Regions from separate parts of the Homo sapiens genome. Here all the other regions are linked to region 1. The links are contacts of gene promoters, found by promoter capture Hi-C in blood cells and fetal thymus (Javierre and others, 2016). All regions are on one chromosome and are shown on one strand. Each heading gives the region's core, a stretch centred on a gene start or on the middle of the fragment in contact. The rest is flanking DNA. Distances are from core to core; before and after follow the strand shown.

Region 1 (2,866 bases), core at 156-2,655:
CGGCTTCACAGATTGCTGGTGGCAGTGGAGAGGTGGGTGGCGCAGGTGGAACCACCTCCCCACTACTTGCAGATCAGGACCCTCCCCGGGAAAGCTCCAGGCCCAGGAACCTAAGCCGCAAGAATCTCGAAATTTCCACAGGACACCTTGTTCCTTTTGGCCAAGTGTCTGGATGAGCCCATCCCCTTGGGCAGCAACAAAAGGTAAAGGGTCTCTGTGAGGCTTTCAGATTCCAAAAAAAAGCAACCGCTGGAGTGGAGTGTGATGGTCAAAGCAGCCACCTTAAGCTTTCTCCTTTCTTTCCCACTAGAGGGCTGAGAAAAGTCTTCTTCCTTGCGTTGTATTTCATTTGGCAAATATTTACCGCTTTGTATTGTGTGCAAACTTTACCAGGTTTTCTGGGAAGAGAAGTCGTGGGGAGCTCTCAGTTTGTTAATAAATATTAATACTTTTGGCCAAATTTTGAATTTTTTATGTCACTTGTTTTATTTCATTTTTGAAAAACAGCACTTTATTTCATTTAACTCTAGCATATTCAATGGCTGTGCATTTAATAATACTGAAATAAAGTCGCACCCAAAATGTTAGCAAAAAAATGGAAACTATATATGGTAGTGACCTCTACAAATGTTTTAAGCTTGAAAAATTCTGCACGAACGCAGACACAGGTTAGTCTGCCAAAGTTACTCAGATAAAAATTTCTCCAACCCTCAAGTCATAATCATAGTTGAGAAATGAATAAATGTGCCTTATGGCACCTCCAAACTTTTTGAGATTTTTATATAAACTAGCCTATACTTCTCTCCTTACGATTAGCATATGGGGTAGCTATTTTTCTTTAACAGAGATTCTTCAAATGTAGCTAGGGTTAAGAGAAACGCTGGCGCTGCCTCTCAGGAAGCTGGAGAAGCAAAAGAAAAAATTAAGAGTTAAGGGCCGCCGGGCTCGGTGGCTCACGCCTGCAATCGCAGCAATTTGGGAAGCCGAGGCGAGCGGATCACGAGATCAGGAGATCGAGACCAGCCTGATCAACATGGTGAAACCCCTTCTCTACTAAAAATACAAAAATAGCCGGGCGTGGTGGAGCGCGCCTGTAATCCCAGCTACTCGGGAGGCTGAGGCAAGAGAATCGCTTGAACCCGGGAGGCGGAGGTTGCAGTGAGCCGAGATCGCGCCACCGCACTCCAGCCGGGGCGACAGAGTGAGACTCCGTCTCAAAAAGAAAAAAAACAAGAGTTAAGGGCCAAGTCAATCCAACCGCGGCCGGCGACTGGAGGCTGAGCATGGCTGGCGATCTGGGGCTGCAGATCACGGCGCAAACCCGCTCACCTCCACCCCTCCCGCGCGGCCGCCGGCGCGCGCCCGTGGCGTCACGGCGTCGGGGTGGAGCCGGCGGCAGGGGCCAGGCCTCTCTAGGCTCTCCGGCTGAGCCGGGTTGGGGCCCGGGTTGGGCCGCCCGGGGACTCTGGAGCATTGGGATTTGTAGCGCGCCCTCTGGGTAGGCGGCTGTAGCGGAGAGGCGTGCGGGATCGGGATGTCGGGGCTGCTCACGGACCCGGAGCAGAGAGCGCAGGAGCCGCGGTACCCCGGCTTCGTGCTGGGGCTGGATGTGGGCAGTTCTGTGATCCGCTGCCACGTCTATGACCGGGCGGCGCGGGTCTGCGGCTCCAGCGTGCAGAAGGTGACTTGGGGGCGGGCGTGGGGCGCGGGTCTGACTGGGTTTCGCTGAGTCCCGGGGTCCGGCCTCGGGAGGCGAGCGGGCAGGCCCCACCTACCGCCCTGGACGCGGCCACCTGCAGCACCCGCGGGCCCTGGGGCCAGAACGGCGCGCCCAGACCGGCTGAGTCTTCGCGTTCCCTCCCTCGTCTGGGCTGAATCCCGCGCGCCCTTCCTGTCCAGGCTGAGGGTGCCAGGGGCCCGGTGTATGACCTGGGCCGCTCGCTTGCCTCTTGCCACCTGGGGAGCCACCTGTCCGGCCTTACCTGGATGGGACTGAGGTGACTCGCCGGACGGGACTGGGCAGGCTGTGCACATCCAGCCAGAGGGTGGTTTGTGAGTTGCTTGGTTCTTCCTGCACTTCCCTGATAGATCTCCCACCACATCTTTATTTACATTTTAATTTTTCAAAACTTTTTTTCTTTTTTCTTTATTATAGCCTTTGGACTTGTGCCTCAATAACTTTTCATATCTTTGTAGAATTTAAGTTTATTCTCTATTCTTCACTTGTCATCTTTATTAACTACTACTCCACAAAATGCTGGTTCCTTACGTGAGCAACTGATTGCCGTGGATATTAGAGGTATTGGGCAAGTTTTGAAGGCTGTGTGGTCATCAGTTTTCTATTTTCCATCTTTGAGAATTCATAAAATTCTTTATTTCCCCTCGTTTGAGAGACCTGCCAAATCATTGGTTGGTTGTTAGTAAAGCCTTGAATTGTTGATAATATTGGTCAGCAACCAACAAATTGATATCCTTCTGTTCTCATATTAATGAAGTGTTGATTTATACACAATTGTCAATGCACCAAAAATAATATTTATTTGTTATGGTGTTCTTATTGTTGTTCCTTTTTTTCTTTTGAGACAGGGTCTCACTTTGTCACCCAGGCTGGAGTGCAGTGCTGTGATCTCGGCTCACTGCAGCTTTGACCTCCTGGGCTCAAGTGATCCTTCCACCTCAGCCCCCCAAGTAGCTGGGACTACAGGCAAGGGGCCACCATGCCTGGCTAAATTTGTTTGTATTTTTTAATAGAGATGGGATTTTGCCATGTTGCCCAGGCTGGTCTGGAAATTCCTGGGCTCAAATAATTCACCCGCCTCGGCCTCCCTAAGTGCCAAGATTACAGGCGTGAGCCACTGCAGCCAGC
Region 2 (2,866 bases), core at 216-2,715, 730 kb after region 1:
TGGAACTTTTGAAACCAGAAATTCTGACTTAGTAGGTCTGGGGTACAGTCTGGGCATCATAATTTTTTTAGTTCACAGGTGATGGTGACAGACAGTCAGAACTGAAAATAGCTGAGGTAGACCATGGCACAAGTAACTAAACATCCAGGTTCAATCTCCACCTAGGTCATAACCATAGTTTCATCACTAATCCTAACCACTTCACAAAGTTCTTAAGAAGGAACAGTTAAGAGTGTGTAGACGGCACAGTGAAAATCTTACCACCTCTCAATATATAAACAGATAAGTAGTATAATCTCTGTGTATTAAATGTAGTACATTTGCAACATTCATAGTAATAAGTTAATCTCATATAGCATTCTAGAAAGAACTTTGATAATAGTGGACTAGTGCCGAACAGGCCATCAACTGTGTGACACTTGCTGTCTCTGTTAGATTCTTCATTTGTAAAATGAAGGGTAAGAACCTTTATTTTCTCTACCTTCATGTTCTCTACCTTCCAGCTTTAAATTTCTATAATTGTCTAAGAATACAGATGTCTAAAAACAGCTATTGCTTAGTATAGACTTTAGGATAAAATAGGATCTTTCATCCGATTCACAGCTTAGGCCCATTTCAGTCCAGTGGGTTAGCGTCTCTTAACAGACCCTTCGATATGTATTACGTGCTGCTGAATTAATTAACAGTCACAGAAAAAAAATTTAGAATTCAAACGCTCTTATCTAATAAATCTTAAATATTTTTAAAACAGTGAATCATGCAAAACAAGTGTACTAAATACATTTAAACACTAAAATAAAGCATCTGATGTACTGCCTTAAAGCAAATGGTTCAAGTTAAAAAGCAATAATCAAAATGGTAGAAGGGATGTTAAAGACCATATCCAAACCTCTAATTTTACAAGTAAGGAAATACGGGCTCAGCAAGGTTAAAGAATTTGCCCAAAGTCATTGTCATTAATGACAGGAAAACAAATTTGTCATTTATGGTTCTCTGTATGTGTACTGATACAAACTTTTAATGTTTATCACTTTAGATAGGGGTTTTTGATAACTAAAATTACATACAAACCTAAAGAGATGCCATAAAAATGTCTTAATACACATAAAAAGCTTAACTTACATGAATATATGACTATACAACATTTTGTTTGCAGTTCTCAAAAGAGAATAGAACTTTATTAGTAGCAAAAACATGTAATCTGATATTATTGTCAAATAATTTCATAAAGCACATTAACAAGGAAATAGGATTAGCAGCTATGATTAAAGGATAAAATGATGGTTTTATTCTGGCTATATTAGTCACTTAAGGATCTATTCAAAGAGTTCTAAGTTTTAAAAAAACAACTCTATGAACTCACTGAGGTTTACCTCCCGTCTTCCACAGAGCAAATGATTAGCAGACTGCTCTGTGAACTTTTACAAAGAACCCTTTTCTCCCCAGTTTCTATCCATCTGAAAGATGGATTCTTCCTCCATCCTAAATAACTCATCATCTCATTTCAAATATCTGATAAAAATGAACTCTTAGCATGAATACACCCTTTTTAATCTCTTCCACTCAACTTTACTGGATAGTCAATAAAATGTTTTGATTTATACTTCACAGAATTAAATAGACGGTTTTATTCAAACCTGTCATGTCAAATTAAAACACTTAATGTGTAAAGTATGAATATGAGATTTTCTTTTCCAAGCTCCAGGACCAATTAGTAACAATATTCAAATGCCCTAATAATAAGTAATCAGAGCATTAAGAAAAATTTAATCTTTTTCCTAACAAGGCAACTTTGGCATCAATTCAAACCTAAGCTTAGTGGGCACTGTGATTTTGAAAGGGATGAACTTCCTGATGCAGACTCATACAGTTTTCTCTTAATACTAACACCTTCTAGTTTTTTTAGGTATATAATTTATAAAATACTTTCATATCTAGTAATTATCCACAGGATAACATTGTGAGGTAGGGCATATTCTAAAGGCCTATTCTGTTCTAGGCATTGTGCTGACACTGGGATGATTTTTTAAAAATGAACAAGAATCAATTCTATCTTGAAAGAGCTCACAATCTAACAGGAGAAGTGAACAAATGATTTCTATGAAATGTGCTATAATAAGGAAATGAGCAAGGAATTGTGTTCCCCAGCAGCAGAGATGCTGGCCAGAGATGGCACTGGAAGTGTCTCAGAAGGTTTTGGGAAGGAGATCACATAGAGCAGGCTTTTGAGGGATGAGTAGGAGCTTCCTGACATAAAGATGGGGTGGAGTAAAGAAGAAAGACAATCCCAAGCAGAGGGAACAACCTGTATACAATGGATAGTGGAAAAGCATCATTCCCATTTAAAAGATGCGGAAGGTAAGCTTCAAGATAAGTGAGCTGGCTAACGCCATATGAAGATTAATTAACAACGTTTAAAGAAGAATATAGGTCTTCAGATTTTAATCAGCTTTGTACACCTGGAAACTCCAGTATACATTGGACAAGAACATCAGATGAAGATTAGTTTTTATCTCCTACTTTACTCCTTCCTAAGAGATGGTCGGTGTATGACCCAGATCCTGGGGAGTGAGAAAGAGCAGGCAGAGATGAGGAGGGGCAGAGTAGGGAGGGAGGCTTATTTAAACCTCATAACAACCCGTGAGATAGGTATTTTTACTATCCCCATTTTATATATGAGAATATGAAGGCCCAAAGACATTAACAAAAGTTGGAAATTAGGTGAAGATTCAAACCCAGGTAACTAACTTTTTCACCCAGCCTCTAAGCTCAAGCACTTAACCATACCCTATAGATCTTCCCTACTCTGTCAAATAACCCTAGGCTATTCTTGGTCTGAAGACACCAGAGAAACTAAGTGAGTTTT
Region 3 (2,866 bases), core at 174-2,673, 650 kb after region 1:
ATGACCAGAATATAAGGTAATCTGGAAAGGAAGGAATATCCGAAATATGATCCTTATAATATACTTATAAAGTAGATACACACCTAAATTAAGTCTATTCAGAAAACATTTTAGCTGTAACATCTGGGATTTCATTACATCTATAAAAGGTCCCTACAATTCTCTGTCTTTGAAGAAAATAATATTCTTAAAGATGTCCTGGCACCTGCACTCATGTTTCCTGCAGCACTATTTACAATAGCAAAGTCATAGAACCAACCTAAGTATCCACCAACATCTGTTACAGGAATATGCAAATTCAAGTATGAATACAAGGCAGACTCACAAGTTCAGAAGTAGGTGTTCTGTTTATGTCCAGAATGTTGCTACCACGCTTTCACTGCCTCAGAGTTCTGTGCAGCTTTAGTAACAAAGCCACAGAATGGACAGCCCTGTGAACAAAAGGACACTGGCCCACTCTCTGCTGGGGCTACTCACAGACCATTTATCCTTTGGCAAGAAAGGGCGTGGTGCTGCCACTGCAACATGGTTCTATTCAGTTCTCACAAAGTTAAGTGAGTGTCAATGTCATGTAGCCGTTGAGAGAAGAAATGGGTATTCAGAACCTGGTTTAACTCTAAAACTCATCTGTTTTCCCTACACTATTGAGCAACTCCTCTTGGCTGTGAGTTTCCTAAGGGCAAAGAGTATCTTACTCATCACTGCATCTCCAGTACTGAGCATGGAATGATACATTATAGGTACTTGAACATCTGTCTAAGAGGTTGGAAGGGATAGGATTAAGCTCACAGATGATAAAGACTGACTGAATTTGAATCCCAGTTAAATCCAATTCAAATCGAGTATGATCAAATCATAATTTGTCAGTTGTGTGAGCTTGGAAAAGTTACTGTATTGTGATTTCCTTATCTGCACATGTGGATGATAACAGAATTTACCTTACCAGGTTGCTAGGAGGACCAAATAAGTTAACACATAAAGTAGTTAGAACAAGGCCTAGTACAAAGCACTAAATAAATGTGGACTATTGTTATTATTTGTTATACAAATCAGCAACTAGGAGCAATTAGGTAAGATTATAAAGTATTTGGAACATAAAAGCTTAAAGAATCAACCAAATTACACCATATAAGAAGGAATCAGAAGTATAGCAAAAATAAAGAATTTTAAAAATTAAGAAATAAACATGTAAATCTATGCAGTGGAGATTTAGATTTTTGGTAATTAAACAGGACTCCAGAACAAAGTTTATATGCTTAAGAAATTTTTAAATCTCATGTTTACAGTATTACCTCAGGTAAATAAAAAGTGAAAATACTGATATATTTAACAAGTTATATTCCAATAAAAGTTCCTACGCCTTTCACTATACTGCATTCTTGGTTTCTTTTTCTGTTTTTACTGTTAATGCTTATCCAGTTCACCTGCCATTTAATATTTTCTAATTATATGCTTTCAGTTTCATTGCTACTGAAATCTATCTTAGATGCTGTTTCTAAATTAAATGGAATTTCTCTTGTAGCCTTCTTTCTTAGAGAAGAGCCTCTTCAAATTTCTGTGCAATTTAAAAATATCTGCAAAATTAACCTATTTTAATAAATCAGGAAAGTAGATTTTGTTTAAATAAAAAACCTATCAAAATGAAACCTGTAACTAATGAAAAAAAACTTATGGAAATTTACAAACACACACAGTAGCAGATGAAAAAATATAATAAATCCCCTTTGTACTCATCACCAAGCTTCAATAATTAACAACATTTTATTACTCTTGTAGAACATCTTTTAACAACAACAAAAAATAGGATTATTAGCCTCACTTGAAAGACTGAAATGGCCAAGAAAAATGCTGAGTAAATTTAAGTATCAGTTATAAGAAAATACAGCCTAGTGAAATTGGTTTATTTTATCTTTTCTTCATTTTAATAAAAATTAAAAAAATGGAATAAAGCTTTCAGAAGAATGAACACTTACTGGATGATGAGGTCGCAAATGAAAAGTATGAGGTGATACTACGGCTACAGCAAAGAAACGAAGAAATACAAAGCTGCTCACTGCAGAATACTGAACATGAGGGTCATCTGCAGGAAAAAAATGGTGAAATGTCATGCACAAAAACAATTAAAAAACAAAGATGATAAATTAAAAAATATAGAAAAGACATGTAAACTAGGAGAGCAACATAATTTGTCTAGTAAGAACTGAGTTGATGAAATGATAGTGATATTTATGACTCAATTAAAAGAAAACCCCTATGATTAAAAAAATCCAAAAGAAATAAGAAATAATATGAAAAAAGACAAAGCTGCTAGGTTTTCAGAAATATTTTAATTTGAAAAATACCTCTTTCCTCACCTGCAAGAAGAGACTGCTAAAATTACAACAGAAATAAAAGTAGTATCTAGCACTACCTAGTGGTAACACTGAATCCCTTAAGAGTATGATACAAGGCTACTTTCAGTTTTAGGTTCTTGTTTCAATATCCCCCCCAAAAATCTTGATAATATCAAAAGTTATGCAACAAAAACAATTAGGCAGAAATGTTTACTTTAAAAAGCTATCAACAGTCCATAAATAAAAATGCAGATGAACTGAAGACTACTGGTGGCTTTGATCATTCACCTACAACTTTCGTTTCAGACTGGAGTCAACAATTTACCCAACAATCAGACAGATGGTGGTGAAGCAGATGGTGAGGGAAAGAATCTTTAGGTTTGGTTCGAGTTTTAACTCTTCTAAGTCATTCAGTAGGTAACCATTAACAAGTCGTTTAATTTGTCATTCTTTAGTAATATCTGCTTTCTACCTGCTGTCTGCTCTGCCCTCCTTCCCCCATTCTTCTAGGGTAGTAAGAACAACAAAAACGA

The links. Contacts are between HindIII fragments. The CHiCAGO score rates a contact against its expected background, and 5 or more counts as called.
Region 2: a contact is called between a fragment that was not itself captured here and the fragment with the promoter of GK5 in region 1, in 1 of 17 cell types (fetal thymus). The highest score is 6.3, in fetal thymus.
Region 3: a contact is called between a fragment that was not itself captured here and the fragment with the promoter of GK5 in region 1, in 1 of 17 cell types (fetal thymus). The highest score is 5.2, in fetal thymus.

What each region holds. Positions count from the first base shown.
Region 1 is chr3:142,224,124-142,226,989 of GRCh38, reverse strand. GK5 (glycerol kinase 5) reads left to right here and starts at 1,405. Exons shown (of 16, transcript NM_001039547.3): 1 at 1,405-1,681. The coding sequence starts at 1,535. RefSeq lists silencers at 1,222-1,461, 1,652-1,871. The HindIII fragment of the contact is 7,101 bases long and covers 640-2,866 here.
Region 2 is chr3:141,490,637-141,493,502 of GRCh38, reverse strand. The region is part of intron 1 of RASA2 (RAS p21 protein activator 2); the gene reads right to left. Among named protein-coding and RNA genes, the nearest start is that of RASA2, 5.0 kb to the right of the region's middle. The HindIII fragment of the contact is 702 bases long and covers 1,115-1,816 here.
Region 3 is chr3:141,576,214-141,579,079 of GRCh38, reverse strand. RASA2 (RAS p21 protein activator 2) reads right to left here. Exons shown (of 24, transcript NM_006506.5): 15 at 1,974-2,080. Among named protein-coding and RNA genes, the nearest start is that of RASA2-IT1, 53 kb to the right of the region's middle. The HindIII fragment of the contact is 640 bases long and covers 1,104-1,743 here.